2 separate regions of the Homo sapiens genome follow, and region 1 is linked to region 2. The links are contacts of gene promoters, found by promoter capture Hi-C in blood cells and fetal thymus (Javierre and others, 2016). All regions are on one chromosome and are shown on one strand. Each heading gives the region's core, a stretch centred on a gene start or on the middle of the fragment in contact. The rest is flanking DNA. Distances are from core to core; before and after follow the strand shown.

Region 1 (6,204 bases), core at 3,342-5,841, 130 kb after region 2:
CGTTTAAATATATTTTAAATATCTCACCTGACTGAGAAATTTTAGTTTCCCCTTCTTCTAAGATGCTATTTTGTGAAGCTGTATTTTTTTCAGGGCTACTCATCAAAACATCCTGTGATGTAATTGAAGAATTCAGTTCCATTCCTTCCACAACATCTGAAATTCCTTCTTTTTTGTTAGTATTAATATCATCTGCTACTCCACCAGCAAGAAGAGGCAAACTCATTCTCTCACTGGATAAACAATCCACCTTCAAGTCTGTCTTATTTACAACCTGGAAGTAAAAATGGCATTATATTTAATTATCAATTTAATTACTTGGAACAAATTTTAAAAGTCTTGTTGCTATTAAATACAAGAAAAACAGAAGGATGACATCCCGGACACAGTCTTAAGAACATTATAAATCCTACTATCCTGCTTCTTCAACAATTAGTTCAGATAATATTATAGAAATAGTATGATTGAAGGCAAGTTTCTCAGCAAGTACCTATACTCTAGCTCAGGGACTGGCAAACATTTTCTGTAAAAGATCAAATAGTAAATATTTTAGGTTTGTGAGTCACAGGGTCTCTGTCATAAGTACTCAACTCTACCACTGTATTGCAAAAGCAGCCAGATAGAATACATAAACAAATGTGTGGCTATTACAATAAAATATGATTTGTAAAAATAGGGGCCAAAGTTTGCTGATTTCTGCTCTAGTTCACTGGTTCCATATTCATTCTGATATGAGTTGAAGAATACAAAATGACACTATGGTTTTAAACAACCCAAATGTCATTGAAACAAGAACTACAATTCTACATGACTGATTTAGATTTCCAACGGAAATTCTGGGGATGCTTTACAAAGTTACTTTCTATAATGATATAAACATATGACATACTGGGCTATCTAACCACACTGGAATTGTACTTACATGATTTTCTTCAATTAAATCTGGTAATCCAGGACACTGAGCATCTTCTATGCTGCTCCTAAAGAAGAAAAAAAGCAGCATTACACTCATAAACATATTGTTATTGTTTCACTTGTATTTTGAGTCTTTCCTTTAATGATGGCAATTAGTTTAGGGAATGGATCAAACATGGAGCCTGGTGCAAGATCAGGCGTGATCCAGATAGATTAGTTTTGGACTATAGCTACTGCAGGATGGCCTTACAAACTAAATGCATTCTTCCCCAGAAAGCTCACAAGTCTGTTACCATGGTGGTCAGTCAGGGTCAGGTGGCTCTACCAGCAATACTCTGAATCTCAGCCAAATCCAGAGCTATATATTAAAGAAAAGTCAAAAAGAAGGTGACTTCTGGAGACAGAAGCAACAATTCAATTATTGTCTAGCTGGAGTTAGCTACATTTACTCGTTACTTGTTAATCCAGGTACCTGCTAAGAAACTTGACTTCAATCATACTATTTCTATAATTTTATCCGAAAGTTCAAAAAGCGGAACAGGAGTTACAATGTTCTTAAGTCTGCTGCTTGTTAACAAGTAAATGTAGCTAACTCCAGCTAGACAATAATTGAGTTAGAATACAAGGTATTCTAATCCTGAAGTTACTAGCTTGTATCTTATTAGAAATATCTGTTTTGGCCAGGCGCCTTGGCTCACGCCTGTAATCCCAGCACTTGGGAGGCAGCGGCGGGTGGATCACGAGGTCAGGAGATTGAGACCATCCTGGCTAACATGGTGAAACCCCGTCTCTACTAAAAATACAAAAAATTAGCTGGGCGTGGTGACATGCGCCTGTAGTCCCAGCTACTTGGGAGGCTGAGGCAGGAGAATCACTTGAACCTGGGAGGCGGAGGTTGCAGTGAGCCGAGGTAGTGCCACTGCACTCCAGCCTCAGCAACAGAGCGACACTCCGTCTCAAAAAAAAAAAAAAAATTTATCTCCACTTCTTTCAAGTTACTTTTTAAAAAAGATATGCTCTATTTTTCTAGTGTCCAGCTTTACTTTGCCTTTATTACACAAAGTTGCTTATTTGTATGATGCCCTTTGAGGATGTTTTGGGGAATCCAAAACATTTTTAAAGAGTACTTATGACTCAAATGCAATTATGAATCTTCTTAGCAAACAATAGTAAACTACAAGATATACAAAGTAGGCCGGGCATGGTGGCTCACGCCTGTAATCCCAGCACTTTGGGAGGCCAAGGCTGGCAGATCATGAGGTCAAGAGATCAAGACCATCCTGGCCAACATAGTGAAACCCCGTCTCTACTAAAAATACAAAAATTAGCTGGGCGTGGTGGCGCGTGTCTGTAGTCCTAGCTACTCGGGAGGCTGAGGCAGAAGAATCGCTTGAACCCAGGAGGCAGAGGTTGCAGTAAGCCGAAATCGTACCACTGCACTCCAGCCTAGGCAACAGAGTGAGACTCCACCTCCAAAAAACAAACAAAAAAATCTAGAAGCATATCTAGCCCATAACAGTTGTTCAGTACACATTAACTCCCCCCCCTTCAATATGCTCTGCCATCTGTCAAGAAAACAATCTCAAGGTACTTTCTACAAAGCCTGGTAAAAAGTGTCCATCTCTCAACCACCTTGGGGAGGCATTAGCACTGCTGCTTTGTAGATGATGAAAGTGAAGCTAAAGAGAATTAATTACTTGCCCCAAAGTTGCATAGCTAGTAAGTCACAGAGCTCTTCTCAGCTCAGAACTGTTGAGCACCAAAGTTGTAGTATGTTTAGCACCAAAGGATACCATATTGCTTCTTTTCTTCTTACTGCTGCAGAATTTACCCAACTAAACGTGACCATTTAGTATCCTGAAACCTTAAGCTTTAGTTTCCTCATTTATAAAAAGGGAGTACTGCCTATATGTTGCAGGGTCATTATGAAATTTATTAAAAATATATGTCTGGCACCTTTTACCATCTTAACAATCTGAAATGGTATTTAGTATCAGCAACTGTTAAACTCTTATTAACATGTTAAAGAAATACCTGCTTTCAGGAATACTCAAAAACAAAGTCTTCTTCACATGTTCACTTTTCGTATTCTGAGGACCGGCATTTTCTGGTGATGTAGTTTGTTGTGGAATGCCCATCTCATTTCTACTCTGAGATACAGCTTTGTTGACAGACTTAGGTGTTCCAAGTCTTTGAGAAGGGCCTTCAGAAGAGACAGAAAGTCCTAGAAGATGAGAGAAATCACCTCAATACCAAATAGTTCTTTTGCTTTTCATTATAACTAGGAATACGGTGAAAATCCTATCAATTAGCCTCTTTCTCCTGTCAAATAATGTCTGTTAAAGACAAATGCCTGGGACTTTCTGTTAAAGATAGTATTTAAATGCATATTAGATGCTGCTTCCTTTTGACATCCCACTACTTTTACATGAACAGAGATAATTTTTTTGTTGTTGTTGAGACAGAGTCTTACACTGTCACCCAGGCTGGAGTGCAGTGGTGTGATCTCTCGGCTCACTGCAACCTCCGCCTCCCAGCTTCAAGTGATTCTCTTGCCTCAGCCTCCCCAGTAGCTGGGACTACAGATGCATGCCACCACGCCTGGCTAATTTTTGTATTTTTAGTAGAGATGAGGTTTCACCATGTTGGCCAGGCTGGTCTCGAACTCCTGACCTCAGGTGATCCACCTGCCTCAGATTCCCAAAGTGCTGGGATTAGAGGTGTGAGCCACTGCGCCAGGCCTGAACAGAGATAACCTTTTTTTTTGTTTTTGTTTTTTTAGAGATGGAGTTTCATTCTTGTTGCCCAGGCTGGAGTGTAATGGCATGATCTTGGCTCACTGCAACCTCCGCCTCCTGGGTTCAAGTGATTCTCCTGCCTCAGCCTCCCGAGTAGCTGGGATTACAGGCACCCGCCACCACGCCTGGCTAATTTTTTGTATTTTTAGTAGAGATGAGGTTTCACCATGTTGGCCAGGCTGGTCTCGAACTCCTGACCTCAGGTGATCCACCTGCCTCAGCCTCCCAAAGTACTGGGATTACAGGTGTGAGCCACCGTGCCTGGACACAGATAATCTTAAAAAGCAGAACTCTACAAGGACAAAGGAAACTAAAGAAGAGATAGCAACAATAACAATATTTTGGAAGCTATAATGTAGATTGTTGAGTGGGACTTAGCAGACTCAAGAAAACTAATTCTAAGCCACCAATCAAGAAAAATGAATTGGCCGGGCGCGGTGGCTCATGCCTGTGATCCCAGCACTTTGGGAGGCTGAGGCAGGTGGATCACGGGGCCAGAAGATCGAGACCATCCTGGCTAACATGGTAAAACCCCGTCTCTACTAAAAAAATACCAAAAAATCAGCCGGGTGTGGTGGCAGGCGCCTGTAGTCCCAGCTACTTGGGAGGCTGAGGTAGGAGAATGGCGTGAACCCAGGAGGCGGAGCTTGCAGTGTGCTGAGATCGTGCCACTGCACTCCAGCCTGGGCAATAGAGTGAGACTCTGCCTCAAAAAAAAAAAAGAAAGAAAAATGAGAATCAACCCAATTTCTACCACATAACCCCTCAAAAGAACTGGTGGCTCCAAGTATCTCTGCAAGTGGAGATGAAAATGGAGCTAAACACAGAAGGAATGGCTCAAAGTCAGTTTAAACAAGAAGAGCTCAGATTCCTTTCCTCATTCTGCACAGCAAAGCAACTGTCATCACCCACCCCCATCACCAAAAACAGAAGGGTCTCTGGTTTAGAGGATACCAGATACAGTTGAGAGACAGGGTACTACATGGAAAATAAGGGAAATAAGTGAATATTTACACAAAGTGTTGAGACACTTAGCTTTCTTCCCCTACATGGCTCCTGAAAGACTGGCAGCCAGAATGATACCTTCCAGGAAGCAGATGGAAAGCATCTTCTCTGGGGAATCTGAGTAGACTATGAGAAAAGTCTTAAATGCAGTGATGTGTAGGTTCCCAGCATAATGGCCCCGCTAACAGAAGGGCCCCGAAAGTAAAGGTCCTACCCATGTGCAGAGAGTTTCCAGTCAGCTTTTTAGTGCCCTATTCTTAACCATGTGCAGGCAGTGAGAGATCACCAGATTCCCGAGGAAAGCCTCTAAATACAAGAGACAGAAACCAAAAACAACTAGATGAAAGTACCCTGAAACAAATACTGTCTATAGTGGATGAAGAAAACATAAAAGCTATCATTAATATCCTTGGAAAGATAAAACAATACACTGATGAAACAAGTGCAGAATGTTATAAAATGAACATTTGGAGAGTAAGAAAGGGCTCTTGGGAATTAAAAACATGATAGCCAGCATGAAAGTTGAGGAAATCTCCAGGAAGTAGAAGAAAACAGTAAGTACAGGAAAGAAAGATTAAAAAGTCTACCAGAAGAAAAATGTGTTTTTGAAAAAGATCAAACCTTGTCAAGAGAGATGGTGGTAAACAACAAAACTCCAGTAAGACTCCAGTAAGTCCAAAAGACTCCAGTAAGAATTGAAAGTAGTTGCTTCTAGGGATTGGCAAATGGAATGAGAAGGGCTTCTTCAGGGACTACTGTTTTGTAATTAGCCTCATATCAACTATGTGCTCTGTAACTAAAACTCAATTTTAAATGACCAATTTTTGCCATAAACCTTAATCTCCCTATCTATAAGGACTGAGTTGAGTATATGAAAGAACAGAATGATGAGCTTATAGCTGTAAAAACCACGAAGATCCTTGACAAGTAGTAGAATGGAGTCATGTTATTAGCAGTAGTGGGAGATTCCTGGGTATCCAGGGAGTGTAGCTGCTTAAAGGAAACAAAAGTACACCAGATTTGATACCTAAACTAACAAGAATATTATAATATACTTGAGGATCACTATAAATATCAGATAGCAGGTATTAGAGAACAATTTAGGTTTACTTTGAAAAAACTTCCTGGTGGACATCTATGGCTTATAAATAAATAATTTCAATTGAGATAAATTCAATTCAAGAAAAATAGTCTGTGGAAAAAAAAGCTATGACAAACACTGTGAGAAAATCACAAAAAAATGATTTCCTGAATATTAAAAACTGCTTTTACTGGAATATTTTTAAATTGGAAAATTAGTACGTTTACTACCTTTCAAAAAGATCTGAGCAAAAGTTTTAATACAAATGCAAATAAAACCAAATCCACTTTGCATAAACTTCCTTTTATTTTTTAGAGATGGAGTCTTGCTCTGTCACTCAGGCTAGAGTGCAGGGGCACAATCATAGCTCGCTGTAACCTTGAACTCCTGGGCTCAAGTGATCCT
Region 2 (6,360 bases), core at 1,608-4,107:
TCCCTCTAGGTGAATATCTCAAAGAAATCCTACAATAATCACATCCAAACGCAAACTCAATCTCCACCCACAGCTCTACCTCTGAAATACGCCCTTCTTCAAGTGTTCCTGTTATTTGCAAGTGGAAGCATCACTTTCTCAACCGTAACATTCAGAAATGTAGACGTTATCCCTGTTGCCTCTTTCTCCATCCTTAATATCTGATCCATCCTGTTGACTTTATCTTTTTAAATATTTCCTGAATGTTTACTCTTTTCTACACACCCATGTTTACTCTAGTCCAAGCTTCTATCACACTTACCCAAACTTGTGGGGAAAAGCAAGAGAGATCAGATTGTTACTGTGTCTGTGTAGAAAGAAGTAGACATAAGAGACTCCATTTTGTTATGTACTAAGAAAAATTCTTCTGCCTTGAGATTCTGTTAATCTATAACCTTACCCCCAACCCCGTGCTCTCTGAAACGTGTGCTGTGTCAACTCAGAGTTAAATGGATTAAGGGCGGTGCAAGATGTGCTTTGTTAAACAGATGCTTGAAGGCAGCATGCTCCTTAAGAGTCATCACCACTCCCTAATCTCAAGTACCCAGGGACACAAAAACTGCGGAAGGCCGCAGGGACCTCTGCCTAGGAAAGCCAGGTATTGTCCAAGGTTTCTCCCCATGTGATAGTCTGAAATATGGCCTCGTGGGAAGGGAAAGACCTGACCGTCCCGTAAAGGGTCTGTGCTGAGGAGGATTAGTAAAAGAGGAAGGAATGCCTCTTGCAGTTGAGACAAGAGGAAGGCATCTGTCTCCTGCCTGTCCCTGGGCAATGGAATGTCTCGGTATAAAACCCGATTGTATGCTCCATCTACTGAGATAGGGAAAAACCGCCTTAGGGCTGGAGGTGGGACCTGCGGGCAGCAATACTGCTTTGTAAAGCATTGAGATGTTTATGTGTATGCATATCTAAAAGCACAGCGCTTAATCCTTTACATTGTCTATGATGCAAAGACCTTTGTTCACGTGTTTGTCTGCTGACCCTCTCCCCACAATTGTCTTGTGACCCTGACACATCCCCCTCTTCGAGAAACACCCACAAATGATGAATAAATACTAAGGGAACTCAGAGGCTGGCGGGATCCTCCATATGCTGAACGCTGGTTCCCCGGGTCCCCTTATTTCTTTCTCTATACTTAGTCTCTGTGTCTTTTTCTTTCCTAAGTCTCTCGTTCCACCTTACGAGAAACACCCACAAGTGTGGAGGGGCAACCCGCCCCTACACAAACTAATACAGGTATCTTCTAACAGTCTTTCTGCATCCATGAGTGCTCCTTTTCCAATTCATCCTCCATGCATTTTCTCAAAAACAAACCTGATCACATCTCTCTGCTTCAAGCCTTTAATACCTTCTCAGTGCTTTTAGGATAAAACGAGATTCCTTAATAAAGTCCAGAAGGTCTTGGATAGGACATCCATTGCCTAACTTCACAGATTCATCTCTCACTAAACTCTGCATCACTCTCCACATTTTAGTAAGGCTAGTTTTCCTTCAGTTCTTTGAGCATACCATGATCCCTGGCCCCATTGGGCCTTTACACACAGTATTGCCTCTGCTTACTATGCCAACATCACCACCCCACCGCCACCACCACTCATCTCTTTATACTGCTTAATGCCTGCTCCGTCTTCAGATGGCGTCTCAAGAAACACTTGTCCAAAGAAGCCTTCCCTGACTCCTTTAACTAGATGAGCTTCTCCTCATACATGTTTATCACTGCACATATTACTTGTTTCTAAATACACATTTATTTTTGTGATTAATTTGTGTTCAATGCCTGTCAATCCAAAAAGACCTTAAGCTCAAAGGAGGAAAAGACTGTGTCTGGTTCGCTCTATTCTATCTGTAGTCCCCAGCAAAAGAGACACACAAGTATTTTTTCAATGAATCAATCAACATAGAAGCGACAGTGGAAGCCGTGCAATCGAGCAGTAGTGCGTAAGAATGGGACTTGGAAAGATAAAAGGGACCAGAATAACCGTAGGAAAATATTATAGTTTAGGAATCAGAGGAAAAAATTGTTTTAAGCCGTCAAAAAGTTAAAAAAAAATAAGCAAAAAGGGAAATAGCATCACTAAAGGCATGGAAGGATATCATTCCAAACAGAACAGGCCACTGAATTTGACAAGTAGGCAGTAACTAGTGATCTGACAAAATTAATAATGTAAGATGCAGGGAAGGGGAAAATATATGGAGAGAAGCTCGCATCTTTCCAACTCCTCTGGAAGTACGATTATAACTTTGTCGATATACTACAACTACCATGACGGCCCGAATCAAACAATAATCTAAAGAAATATGTGTGCCATTTTAGATTTCAACATTATTCCTCTATCCGCATGAGTCATTTTTAGCTGACTGCACATATAAAGTTTAAGGATAAATGTTTTAACATTTGCACCTAAAACGTTGTTTCTCAAAGAACCTTACCTCCCAGAATCATCAAAACAGACCTCCGTGTGTCCCTCTGTATGCCCATATCTCATTGGCTTCCGTGTGGCAGGCATGTTTTCCTTTACCTATCTGAAAATGTTTTATAAAAGCCAGTCTTATTATTTCAAAAGAGAAAAGCAGCGAGGCTAGGGATAGGAAGAGAGCTTAGTCTCCTCTAGGGCCCGTTCTCCGCAGCCCGGTTTCCCCCACCCGAGTGACACCAGCGGGATAAGGCAGAGGGTCTGTCAGACAATAAGCCGGAAAGGGAACACGCATCTCCTTGGTGGACGCGGGCAGCCGGAGTGGGGACTCACCCGGGTGACCGAGCCTCCGCCACTGAGGATCCACAAGAGCTGCTTCCCGCGCTTCGGCTCGCTCACCACACTGCGCCTGCGCCGACCCGCCCACGCCCAGCGCAGGTCCCGACAGAGGTCGCCGGGTGGTGGCGTCAGCTGCGGCGCCCTCCGCGTGGAAATTAGCCGGTTGCCCGGGCAAATCAGGGAGGAAGGGAGGGAGCTGAACACGGAAGTGGTGGCGGCGCCCAGGGAACCGGCGGAGGCGATGACCGTGACGGCTGGGTTGGGACCGGAACGCCGAAGCGGGGTTGGGGGTGGCAGAAAAGCATCTGCTTTGTAAGACCTACACGAGGTGCAGGAGTGGTTGGGCCTCCCCTCTCCACTTAAGCAAGCGCCCAGACTGATGGCGATGGTGATGGCAGCAGTTACTCGCACAACCCCAGTTAAGCTGCGCTCCGGGAGGTGAGTGGGGGAAGGGTGGCCGCTGCCTGGCCTCGCAGGCCGGGGTCTTGTTCCTGCCCTCCAGGCTCTCCTCCCAGGAAACAATATCCGGATCCCTAAAAGGATCCGGTCTCTTTCTTGGGGCCCAGTTAGCAGACAGATCTTTGAGCATCTTCTCTGGAAAAGAAGGCGAGATCTTCTAGAGCCTCTAATCTTGGCATCCTTCGTGCCCTCACCTTGTCGCTTCTGTAGAGATAAAGAAGGAATGACTTAATTTCTGTTCCGGTTGGTTCTCTTGGTACCTGAAGGTATAATTAATTAATGCTCAATTAATGCTTATTCTTTGCGACTCTATATATCCGTTATGAAGAAAGTAACTTGTGTTCTCTATTCAGATCCCACCTAAAGTTTACTGAAGTGAATATTTATAACCAAAAGAAGAGTTATAACTTAGTAGCCTTGAGCACTTACATTTGATCCATGCAATATCTGCTAAAGTCTTGGCCACTAAGTTTAAGTTTATGCTTTTCTTGTATCTTCATTCTCCATATTGGTACAGCAGCCTGTGATGAAAACCTTCAGAATGATATTCTTTCATTTGTACTTATCTTTGAGAATTTTTCTGCGTTTTTGTGATACCTTCCAGTATCAATCACATTTATTTTATTACCTGAGACGTTTTTCTGTTGAAGAGGTTTCCCTATTGTTTTTTTCAATCTAGTTCCATTGTGAAAAGTTGCAAACACACAGGCAAACCGTCGTGTTCTTACCGTGGGTGGCATTGTGTGAGGCGTTGTTTTTAGTACTAGAGCTCCAGATAGCCTTGCTAGACGCTGAGGTTTGTATATGAATGAAGAGGAAGAATGATTGGCTTAAAAACAACTTGGGATTTGTGGAAAAATAACCCACTGTTGATCTCCCGAAAGAGCAGTGGTACCAGAGATGATGCTTTCTGAGTGACCTAATTTTTTTTTTTTGGAGATCATTTGTTTTTTGGATAGACTGGCTTATAAATTTTTTCGTTCAAGTAACAATATCATTGGCTAGAGTACATAGAGTTCAAGATGAACTCTCATAATATTCGTCTCTATGTTGAATAAAGCGTGGTGAGATTTCTGGTTAGTACTATTCAGAGCTCAGCATAAGAAGAATCTGCAAATTGGAACAAGTTATAGCTACAAAATGCCTTCACTATAATATCTGTAATACCCATGAGACTATGATTGATGTCCACACATCTGTCATTTTCTCTTATCAATCAAGCCATTTGATTCATAGGTTAAAGAACAATTTTCTTTGCAGATTTTGCATGTATGGTAAAAGCTTGAGCCTCCGAGTTTAACAGTCCTGGGTTTTAATTCTAACTGACACATTGTGTGACCTTGAATATGTTCCTTTACTGAAAATCGAATTCCTCATCTCTAAAATGGAGATGACACCTACCTCCGTCGCATTGTTAGAGTATATAGGAGATACTCATGGATGTATAAAAGTAATTGTTATTAATATCTCATGTTACTAAAGGGGTGCTTTGGGTGGGTATTTAGTGTTTTTTGTTTAAAGTGGGATTTGTTTAAATAATTATCCAGTAAATTTTTCAAATATTAAAAAATGTATTCTTGTTTTTGCTAGTATCATGTTTTCACAATTCCATTTGTTTCAGTCAAATGGCTACAAATTGTAATACCTTCAGTGAGTTTATGGTCTTGCTGAGGGAAATAGACATTCAAACAATATGATCAAGATGATAGTGCAGTAATGAAAGATGTGTAACTTAAATATTAGCAAAATTGTCTAGTTAGTTAAAATAACATAGTTTTTTAAAAAGAAATCAGTGTAGCTGTGTCACTGATAGGAGTATCAAAAATTTTCCAAATGTAGTTATTTGTCATTAACAGTGCTTATCTCATAGGTGTGGGTGGCTAAATGAACTGACTGAAAATGATGCCAAAGTCACAGATTGAATTGCAGTGATGGTTAGTTAGCTTTGCTGTGTTGTAACCACTCATACTACCCTTAGACTCACAAATATTTTTGCTCCCAAGGACAATTGGGTGAGAAAACATGGGTACATTGCCATTCTACCAATGATGGTATTACCTATATAAAATCATGTGATCTTACAGGATTTATCTAAGAGGATATATCAGTATTGGCTTATGGAAGGAGTTTAAAAAATTATTTTCTAGTAAAATATGTACTTGGTGTAAAAATGATTAATCTTGTGAAAGGTAAGGCTAGAAGAGTGTAACAATAGCCAAGGAGACCAAAGTATTGAAAAAAGAAACATTGAAGGCACTTTAGAAATGTGAAGATTTTTATATTTCCAAATGTGTCCTGAAACTTACTAGCCTATTTAATAATTTTGGGGTAAATAGTACTTGTCTGTATGTATACTTAATATGATATAAAAGGCAATACAGTAAAAGTCGTCCTCCTACTCATACTCCCAGCCATCCAGTTCCCCTGGCTAAAGACAGCCAGTATTTGATTCTTGTATTACATTAACACTAGATCCTTACTACAGCAAGATGAGATAATCAGTGTTATATAGATAGAAAAACAGAAAAGTTGTGATTTATCTAGTCTTTATCTAGTCACACACCTGCGAAATGTCAGAGCTAGAAATAGAACCCAGGTCTTTCACCTAGTCCAAGGTAGTCTACCGCACTGATTCTCCAAATCATAGCTGTTGCCACAAAACTTAGAATTTAGTAAAACATAAAGTGTAGAGTCACCTTTTACTAATTTGTACGTAAAACTTGTTACCCAACCTTAAATGTAAGCATATGTAATTGTTATAAAGCAGTGAAGAAAATATAATACAATCTTATAAAATCTTTGCCTGTTTCTACTTAAATCTATTTACTAAGCTTCTAAAAAACTACAATTTTTTGTTTTAAAGAATTTAAAACTTTTTAAAAATAATATATTTAACATCAGGAATAATATAAAGTGCTTTGTGATATTTCAGAAATGGAAGAGCCTCCTTGACTTCAGATTTCTGAGGCACGTTTTTGTGCAGATTTTCTAGCCTTACATATAGCCTTTGTTTCCCCTCCCCTTTTTCTTAAAAAAATAGTGTTCTTTAAAAAAAGTGTTCCCACCTCTCATTTTTAGAAATGTACTTCTTCTAACATGAAAAGTTCTG

Evidence for each region. The method cuts DNA at HindIII sites, captures the fragments that hold promoters and counts their contacts. A CHiCAGO score of 5 or more calls a contact.
Region 1: a fragment that was not itself captured here is called in contact with the fragment with the promoter of WDHD1 in region 2 in 3 of 17 cell types (M1 macrophages, M2 macrophages and erythroblasts); the score reaches 7.4 in M1 macrophages.

What each region holds. Positions count from the first base shown.
Region 1 is chr14:55,151,668-55,157,871 of GRCh38, forward strand. DLGAP5 (DLG associated protein 5) reads right to left here. Exons shown (of 19, transcript NM_014750.5): 15 at 2,950-3,139; 16 at 923-980; 17 at 28-274. Among named protein-coding and RNA genes, the nearest start is that of LGALS3, 26 kb to the left of the region's middle. The HindIII fragment of the contact is 3,616 bases long and covers 2,784-6,204 here.
Region 2 is chr14:55,024,242-55,030,601 of GRCh38, forward strand. It overlaps WDHD1 (WD repeat and HMG-box DNA binding protein 1), which reads right to left and starts at 2,858. Exons shown (of 26, transcript NM_007086.4): 1 at 2,787-2,858; 2 at 2,470-2,562. The coding sequence starts at 2,546. SOCS4 (suppressor of cytokine signaling 4) reads left to right here and starts at 2,995. Exons shown (of 3, transcript NM_199421.2): 1 at 2,995-3,230. RefSeq lists enhancers at 2,680-3,207, 3,208-3,734 and a silencer at 2,836-2,885. The HindIII fragment of the contact is 4,247 bases long and covers 284-4,530 here.